3 separate regions of the Homo sapiens genome follow, and regions 2 and 3 are each linked to region 1. The links are contacts of gene promoters, found by promoter capture Hi-C in human tissues and cell types (Jung and others, 2019). All regions are on one chromosome and are shown on one strand. Each heading gives the region's core, a stretch centred on a gene start or on the middle of the fragment in contact. The rest is flanking DNA. Distances are from core to core; before and after follow the strand shown. Region 1 holds the start of PRRT4 (proline rich transmembrane protein 4). Region 2 overlaps SND1 (staphylococcal nuclease and tudor domain containing 1). Region 3 overlaps SND1 (staphylococcal nuclease and tudor domain containing 1).

Region 1 (2,908 bases), core at 285-2,784:
GAGAAGCAGGTAGTGTGGGCAGGATGCAAAGTGTCCTGTCCATGGCTCTGGCTCTTCTTGCCGGGCCCTTCCTGTACCTTCAGGCCCCAGCACAAATCCCTGCCTGGGGGTTCCTCCTTCCCCCTCTGCTCATGCAGAAGCTGGGGTCTGACTGCAACCAGGGGCCCTCATCCTTAACTAGTAGCAAAAGGGATGGACTTGGGCTTCCAGACATGGATTCCTCTCTTCCTTCCCTCTGCTGAGCCTCAAGTCTTTACGCAGGCTTACCGTTTGCCAAGCACCCTTCTGGGCATATAACTGTGAACAAGCAAGCCCTTCCGATGTCTTGACCTATTCCAACCCCCACCTCCCGCCCCAGCCAGAAGTGCTGGCGCCCTCACTCTCAGACCCCAGGGGGCACAGGGCCTCGGGAGGGGTAAAGCCAGAGCTGAGTGATCTGGCCCAGTCAGAAGGCCGCCCAGGCTCTGGCCAGAGAAGCAAGGTTCCCAATCTGGCAGAAGCACCCTCCCTCCCGCCCCTCCCGTTTCCTGGGGCTGGGCCTGTTCCCTTCCCTAGGACCCTTGAAGTATTCGGGGGAGGGGCAGCTTGGCGATCTCCGGCTTCCTGGAGGAGAACGCCAGGCAGGCAAGCTGGGCGAACTGCAGGCAGCTGCGGCGGACTCCTACCCCCTCCCCAGAACTCTCTCCTCTGTGCGCACACATCTGGTGGGGGAAGGGAGGGTGAGCCAGGGACACACATGCACCCGGCACCCTTACATCACACACATAGCCACATCTAGCGCCCGTGACACACTCACCCGTCACATACCCCCCTGCCCCTGCACGCGCGCGCGCACACACACACACACACTCCGTCCTGCCGAGCCACTCTCCTCCCTGCATGGGTTCAAACCCAAGCTCTGTGAGCCCCCGGCCTCCCCTGTCTCTCTCTCTCTCTCTCTCTCTCTCTCACACACACACACACACACACACACACACACACACACGGCATGTACTGTACAGAGATGCACACCCCCTACACACATTCACACACACAGACATGCCACACACCGCCATCCCCCCACACTCGTACACGCCCACCACCCCTCGCAGGCACACATGCACACACGCGCGCGCACACGCACACACACCCCCAGCCCGGACCGGCCGACCTGCTCCCCGGGGTCTCTCCCGCAGGCAGGTCTCCTCGCCGAGCCTCCGAAAAGGGGCGGTCGTGGCGGCCCTGGCGCCCAGCTGGGCAACGCTTCGTGGTATCTCACCGCTTCTCTCTGTTGTGCCCAGCGCCCCGACTGAAGATCCGGACCTCCAGCCCCCGGCGGCCCCTCGCCTAGTCCAGAGACCGCAGCCTCGCCGCCCCGCTGCCCCTGAGCCGCCCCCGGCCCAGCCCCGGCCCGCAGCGCTCTCACCAGGCGGGCGGCCAGGCCCCGCGCTCCGCACTCCGCACTCCGCGCTCCCTCCCAGCGGCGCCGCCTCCTGGCTCCGAGCCTCGCTCCCCGGCGAAGCCGCCCGCGCCGGGGCTCCGCGGCAGCCGGCTCTGACGGCCCTCCCGTCCGCCCGCCCTCGCTCCCGCGCCCTCTCTCCTCCTCCTCCTCCTCCTCCTCCCACCCAGCCCGCCACCCGCGGTCCCCCCACACCCGGGCGGGCAGGCAGGCGCTCACAGCAGCGCGGAGCCGCGGCCACCTCGGTGCCGGGCGCCTCCACGCGCGCTCATTCACCCAGCGCTGTCAATCAGCCGCGGCGGGCGCCTCGCTGTGAGCCTGGCGAGAGCAATCACACACTCCCAGGGCGGCCCAGCACACACATCCACACGCGCGCCAGGAAACACACTCGCAGGTCAGAGGGCGCGCGCACACACGCGCACACATGGCAGCCTGCCCCAGGATGGCACCCCGGGCAATAAGAGTCCCACCGTTTGCTAAGTAGAAGTACAATGGACAATTCTACTTCCTTTATCTCATGAGTCCTCACCGCAACCCTGTGTATGTCGCCACTTTGCAGACAATTAAATGAAGACACAGAAAATTACCGAATTTGCCCAAGATTGCACAGCTTGGTAGAAACTCGAACCGTCTCCCTGCCGGCCCTCTCCACCACCTGGTGGTTTTCAACAGTTGCACTGCTACACAGCAGTGCCTCCAACACTTCACCGGTGAACTGCCAAATGCCAATCCCTGTGTGACATGTCTTTTCGCTAAAACTGATCTCTCAAAAATACTGTTTCAGAAATGTCTGCCAGAAAGAATGGTGAGCTAAGCTGCTTGTGAGAAGTGGATTACAACTGGTTTCTAGTAAGAGGTGTGAGGAGAACAGTAAAATCAAAGGCTGGGTTCAGTGGTTCACGCCTGTAATTCTAACACTTTGGGAGGCTGAGGCAGGCTGATCGCTTGAGCCCCGGGGTTCAAGAACAGCCTGGGCAACATAGCAAAAGATAAAATAAAAACAAACAAACAGCAAGCAAGCAAGCAAGCAAGCAAGAAAAAAAGAAGAAAGAAAGAAATTATCTGGGCGTGATGGGGTATGGTGGCAGACACCTGTAGTCCCAGCTATTTGGGAGGCTGAGACTGGAGGATTGCTTGAGCCTGGGAGGTGGAGGTTGCCGTGAGCTGTGATCATACCGCTACACTCCAGCCTGGGCAACAGAGCAAGACCCTGTCTCAAAAGGAAAAACAAAGAAAAAAGAGCGTGCCCCTTCACAGAAAGTAAGAGAGCTCAGGCAAAAGCTGACACAGGTTGAAGATGACCAAGAAAACCGAGCAGTCACTATGTATACTTCATGGAACCTGTTAAGTTGTAGTAGTGACTAACTGAAGTACTACTGACTCATTCATGTGGTTTTGAGTCTCTAAATCCCTTCATGTTTTCTTCAAACAATGATAGTAATTTAAAAGTATCAGAACATGAAACACTTC
Region 2 (2,908 bases), core at 133-2,632, 480 kb before region 1:
CACATTTCCATCTATATTTATTTTTATATGTTTATTTCTAAATCTATCTATATCTATTGAAAACCATGTGTGGCAGTCATGAAAATGTGCCTCCTGGATCTCCAACTGCAGGAAACATAATAGACTGACAGCCCAGCTGCTGTGCTTTGAAATCAATCACTGCTACTTCAGCCAAGGCTATGCTTCCCACCAGCTGCTCCCAGCCAATAGCGGAGCGCAACAGAGATACTAAGGCAGGCCTATTGCTGAGGGACATAGGGTTCCTCTGACGGACAATTTTGACTTCTTATCAAGCTTTGACGAAACTCTTTGGAACAGGCCCGTAGCTCAGATGTTCCCTATCTAACCTTCCTTCATTCCCTCCATTCTGCACAGGGGTTTGACCTGCACTGCAGTCTGTTGGCTCTTCCCAGGCCTCCTGGGGTTCCCTTCCCACCTTCCTTGAGATGAGTTTTCTCCAATTAATCTCTTGCACATCTAATCCTTCTTGGCACGTGCCTCTTATAGAACCTGAACCAACATACCATGAGTTCACACAAATACCTAAAATTCCAATCCACTGCTACAGGGTTCATTCTAGTTTTCTTCCTTTCCATATTTGTATATACCTACTCTGACAGTGAGAAACCTGGCTTATCCTTAGTACTTTCACTGGTAGGGTTGATATTCCTTAGTGTAACCAATCTTGTAACACTGATGTCACCCCTCCCAAGTGGACACTCAGTCTTTAATGCCTGGCTATGGAGCCACCTTCCATGTGGATGTTTGCACCCAGGTTGAACTCTGATACCTTGTATGAGTGATCATCCTTACCTTCCTATGGGGCTCTGACACCCCAAGCCAGACTAGCCTATACTTTGTGCAAAATACTGTGCTTGGAACTGGGATATAGAGCAAGAAAAGCATGGCCCCTGCCCTCACAGTGTTTATCACTCACCAAGGAAGATAAACAATGAATGAATAATTGCCATATATTGTGATGGTGTATCACATGGGGAACCCACCAAGAAGAGAACACATGTGATTCTCATATGCATTGCACGTAGTGAATGCCCAATGGTGATGGTTGTTATCATTTCATGTATTTTTACTCTTGTTACCGCTAAGCACCAGCATCACAACTGTTCCTCCAGGAGAAATCTATAATTAGGGGATAAGAAGCTAAGAGAACATGGCTTAGATGCTGAGCTTTAAAGGAAAGAGAGAAGAAAGTTAGTGGGCAGGGTGTGGAGTGATTTGGGAATCTAAGGCCTCAGGAACTCCATATGGCAGGTCTTAACTGGTTTGTAGACATTTGCTGATAGGATAAAGAGGGCAGGGACAAGGAAGAGTAGAGAAAGTGCCCTTGGTTTTTCCCGGCCAGGCAGGTACTCAGTAATTCTGTGTATTGATTTGAGCAGCATTAACTGGGGTGGATCATTAAACATTTGTGTTGTTTTTCTTTATATATCAAAGCTTGTTTGTGTGAATTTTTCCTTGCCTGCTCTGCCATTCCCACTTTCTCCTCCAAACCCCATGTATTTACTGTAAAATGTCAATGCTCAGTAATTCAAAATGCAGTAACAAATATTTCTTTGTTTTCTTGGCATTTAAAACAGCCAGGACATCTCAAACTATCAAAAGTGGAGTTGTCCCCCATGCCACTCCCCAGCCTTCTTACTAGCTCTTTGATGGGTGGAGCCTCTCTTGTTCCCTGCTAGGGCCCCTTAGTGACAACCTTAGTTTAAATCCTCACCATGTATCAACATCTACATCTGCTGATTTGAGGCTGTTGCCTTCTCCATGCTGCCAAACACAACTCTGTGATAATGACAGCATTTGCCAGCACGCTTATGTGGTGACTCAGGAGACAGGGTGGCCAGCAAAGCAGCCTCTTTGTGGGAGTGGATTTTGAGAAGTGCTAATTCCGTGGCAGTTTGGAGATATTAATACCGTGCTGGCAGTAGATAAACAGACATCCGAGGGGCATATAATGAGAAGATAATCAGCCACTGCATCTTTTCCTCCTTGCTCTACCAACACATTTATTTTTTCTTCTTTAAAAAAAAAAAAGCATGTTCTCCTGGGTTTTGACGAATAGAGCCCTTAAATTGCGTAAACATGCACAGATACTGGTTGGTTCAGCTCCCAGCATCCCCACAGTATAACTTTCTAAGAACCACTGGTGTGTTAGGAGTTAACCACATTTTCAAACAATACTCAGTCATAGCATATGGCACGGTAGCCTATTGCTTACCATAGCCTCTCCCTAAAGGGCAGCAAACCAGATGGTTTGAGTAGGGCCTTTGGTGTAATTATGACAGACACAAAGAAAGACATAACCACCATTCTCCCTCAATAATATCATGCTTCTTGTTTTCCAGTATTTGCTATAGTTAATTATACTTAATTTTTGAAAATTTGTTTTTGCAGTTTGATTGTTCATAACAAAGTTCCCTTTCCAGGTTGGGGAGGAACCATTCAAATATGTATCATTAAGTGTCTGCATATCATTTCCCATTCATCCTTCTCTAGCTAGTAGATGCAGGCCACATAGAGTGGCATCTCTCATTCCCAAGTGTGAGCAATTTTCTTATTCTGGCAAAAAAAAAAAAAAAAAAAGATTTGTTGCATTTGAGAATTACTTTGCATTAGAGTCTAACCTGAGATTTTTTGTAGCTCCCATGGAGTATTGCTCCAAAACTGGTCATCTCAGATTTTATATTGTTTACTTTCTTTGTTCCCCATCTTGATTTGCTTTTTTCTTTCTTTTTTGAGATAGGGCCTCATTCTTTTACCCATGCTGCAGTGTAGTGGTGTGATCACAGCTCACAGCAACCTCAAACTCCTGATCCTCCTCCCTCAGCATTCCAAGTAGCTGGAACTACAGGCATGCACCACCACACTCGGCTAATTTTTAAATTTTTAT
Region 3 (2,908 bases), core at 187-2,686, 270 kb before region 1:
GCAGACCCTTGTCCTCTGGGATGATGGGCACTGCTATCCACAGTCTCTGCCAGTTGGTTTTATTTGGAGGTTTGTGGGCTTTTTTTAAAAAAAAAAAGTCCTCAAATCAGGAAGAAACATCAAAGACTATGTCCTAGTGGAGGGAGTAATCCTAACACCCAGGCTGGCCGCCAGCTGGCACCTGCCTCTATCCCAGACTGCCCTCGTCCCAGCTCTCTGTCCAACTGTTGATTATGTGATTTTTCTGATACGTCCATTCTCAAATGCCAGTGTGTTCACATCTTCGCTCTGGCCAGCCCATTCTGTATTTAAAGCTTTTGAGGCCCAATAAAATAGTACGTGCTGTCTGCAGCCCTTATTGATCACAGTGTGGTCCAGAGCATGGAGTCTTGGCAGCTTCACCCAGGAGGAGACCTGGACACTTGAATGACCCCCAAGATAGTCATCCAAATGCCTGGACATTCTCCCTAGAAATAGAGCCAGCTGGGGAAAGCAAGGCAGATCTTCAGAGTCTGAGCAAGCAACTCCTGGACCCAGTGGGCACCACTTGGCACCATGGCCATCATGCAGGAGGCTACAGGTCTTTTTTGACTTCTTGCACATGGCTGTTTTCAAGGACCTTAGAGAGTTACAGCAGCTTGGCCAGCAGCACCCAGGACAATTTACCCACTGTGAATTGCTGGGTCTGGCCTTAGGCAGACCCTGCCAGATCCCCAAGAAAGGATTCAAAAGGAATCAGCTGAGAGCAATGAGGTGATTTCCCTAATTCCTGCTGTGTCTGGGATAGAGTGGGTTAGAACGCAGGCCCCCTGGTTCCTCTCCGGAGAACAGAGCTAGGAGGGCCGGCTTCTCCAAGAGGGACCCAGGTCCCAGGTGAGAGGCCTGTCTGCTCCAGGTTAGCCATTGCTCATGTCTGACTTGATAAGCTCTCCCCAAAAGTCCTCAGGTAGAACTGGCCCTGGAGCTCAGAATCCTCAGGCTGCGTGTAGCCCATGAGGGAGGAGCCATGGTGGTGTGAGGCCAGGAGTCCCGGGGAGAGAAAGTCAAGTGTGAGAGTCACCACTCCCCACACCCATGGTGTCCAGCGCCTCATTATTCCTCCACTGACGGCATTACCTGTGTGCCCCCGCCCCTCCCTGGCACATACTTTGGTGAAACTTGGTGGCACGTCTTTCTGACAGCCCCACATCCCACCAACATTCTGATCTGGGGTGATGCTCCAAGCTGCCATATAAAATTGACCCTTTGATCTTGGGGGCTACAGGGACAGTCAGTGGAGGTGGTAGGGCCTGGCTGGCTGGATCTCATTCCTCAGCTGGAGGTCCTGCCGTAACACACACTTGTTCTGGCCAGGGCTCTTACGGGGTTCTCATGTGTGCTGCTTATACTCAAGGTGCGCTATAGTTAGGTGAGGGTAGGAAGAGCCAGGGAGGGGCCATGGGGAGAAATGTTGAGTCAGTTCAACTCCAGAAACACTAGTTTCCCTTGGTCCTCGTGGGGACTCACAGTTTCTACTTGCAGCGCCTCCGGCTTAGCCAGAACAAGCGCTTACACTGTCTGAATCAGACCCTTTATGGTCCAGTAAACTGTGCTTCCCTTGACTACATGCAGCCCCTTAGGGGGCCCAGGAAGTCAGGAGGGGTGTGGATGATGACTTGGTGTGAATCTCTTCATCATCCCCACTCCTGGAGAAGCTGTCCTGCCCCCAGCAGAGAAGCACACTCTCACCATGGTCTCTGATTTTATTTTTATCCATCAAGAAGAGAATGCCCATCTCACTTATTTCTTGACCTCCAAGGTGCTTCTGGTAGGGTGCGATGTGTATTCACAGTGAACACAATCGGCAGAGGGCAAGATGCCAGCCCACTCTTTTGTGAAAGGGTCTGAAATCATCTCACGGTCTTCACAGTTGCCTTGGTTACATCTGCACCCAAGGATAAACCCTCCTTAGTTTTCCAATTGAAATTATGCCTGAGCCTTCCCACTTCTGAGTTTTTTCTCTGCCAAGGCTGGTTGAGACAAAGGTCAGATCAGTCACCAGGCAGGAAGGCGCTACCGCAGCTTGTCTGGTTTTGACCCCAACTTGGTGTTTCTCTCGGTATCACATCTGCCAAGTTCCTGAGGTGTGACCTGGATAGGGCTGGGACCAGGGTGAGGCAAGCCACGCGCCAAGGGTGCAGATTTGAAGGAGGCACTCACAGAGTGCGCACACATTGGCATGTTCTATTTTCATCTGTAGCTGTCCACTCAGCACCAGCCCTTGCACCAGTAGCCAGAAAAAGCTCTCCACAGGTTCCTCCCACTCCCCCTGAGTTATAAAAATTGCACCTTGGCCTCAGGATTGTGGGTTCTGCTTCTCCATCCACCTTTCCTGTTGAATAGTGAAGTCTCTTGAGCACCTGTTATCCATCCATTTAGGCTTCCTCCAAGCAGGGATTAAGACCCAGATAGTGCCAAGCACAGTGTTGGGTCCAGTGAGTGCCAAGGTCATCTCTCTGGGCTCTCGAGGAGGCAGCAGATGCATGCTATCTATAACAAGCCACAGCAGTGGGTGGTGCCCTGGGACTTTAAGGGACAGAGGCCCTGGCCCAGGTGGCTGGGAAGTTTCCCAGAGGAAAGGAGAAGAGCTGGGGCTAGCAGATGGTGGGAAGGCATCGCTTATCTCTGGGCAGCTTGAGGAGTCTCCTGGTCTCCGAGGGTGGATGCAGCAGAGCCCAGGGCTTGGGAAAGCCACCAGGGAAGTATTGGTGGCTGAGACTCCTCCGCAGCGACCTCATCTCCCTCCTCTTGCTGGTGGACAGGATTAGTAGCGAAGGCGGGCAGTGGAGAGAAGGGCTCCCGTGACTGCCTCCATTTTATTTATTGGTTTGATTATTTTTGCGTCCTGGGGAGAGAGTGGACCCCGTTT

The links. Contacts are between HindIII fragments. The study calls those that stand out against the background at their distance.
Region 2: a contact is called between a fragment that was not itself captured here and the fragment with the promoter of PRRT4 in region 1, in 1 of the 25 tissues and cell types used here (spleen).
Region 3: a contact is called between a fragment that was not itself captured here and the fragment with the promoter of PRRT4 in region 1, in 1 of the 25 tissues and cell types used here (spleen).

What each region holds. Positions count from the first base shown.
Region 1 is chr7:128,360,156-128,363,063 of GRCh38, forward strand. It overlaps PRRT4 (proline rich transmembrane protein 4), which reads right to left and starts at 1,535. Exons shown (of 6, transcript NM_001174164.2): 1 at 1,406-1,535; 2 at 1,151-1,267. RefSeq lists enhancers at 1-601, 602-1,470. The HindIII fragment of the contact is 21,921 bases long and covers 1-2,908 here.
Region 2 is chr7:127,884,268-127,887,175 of GRCh38, forward strand. All of the region lies in intron 12 of SND1 (staphylococcal nuclease and tudor domain containing 1), which reads left to right. Among named protein-coding and RNA genes, the nearest start is that of SND1-IT1, 110 kb to the right of the region's middle. The HindIII fragment of the contact is 6,564 bases long and covers 1-2,908 here.
Region 3 is chr7:128,092,243-128,095,150 of GRCh38, forward strand. It overlaps SND1 (staphylococcal nuclease and tudor domain containing 1), which reads left to right. Exons shown (of 24, transcript NM_014390.4): 24 at 1-351. Among named protein-coding and RNA genes, the nearest start is that of MIR593, 12 kb to the left of the region's middle. The HindIII fragment of the contact is 7,467 bases long and covers 1-2,908 here.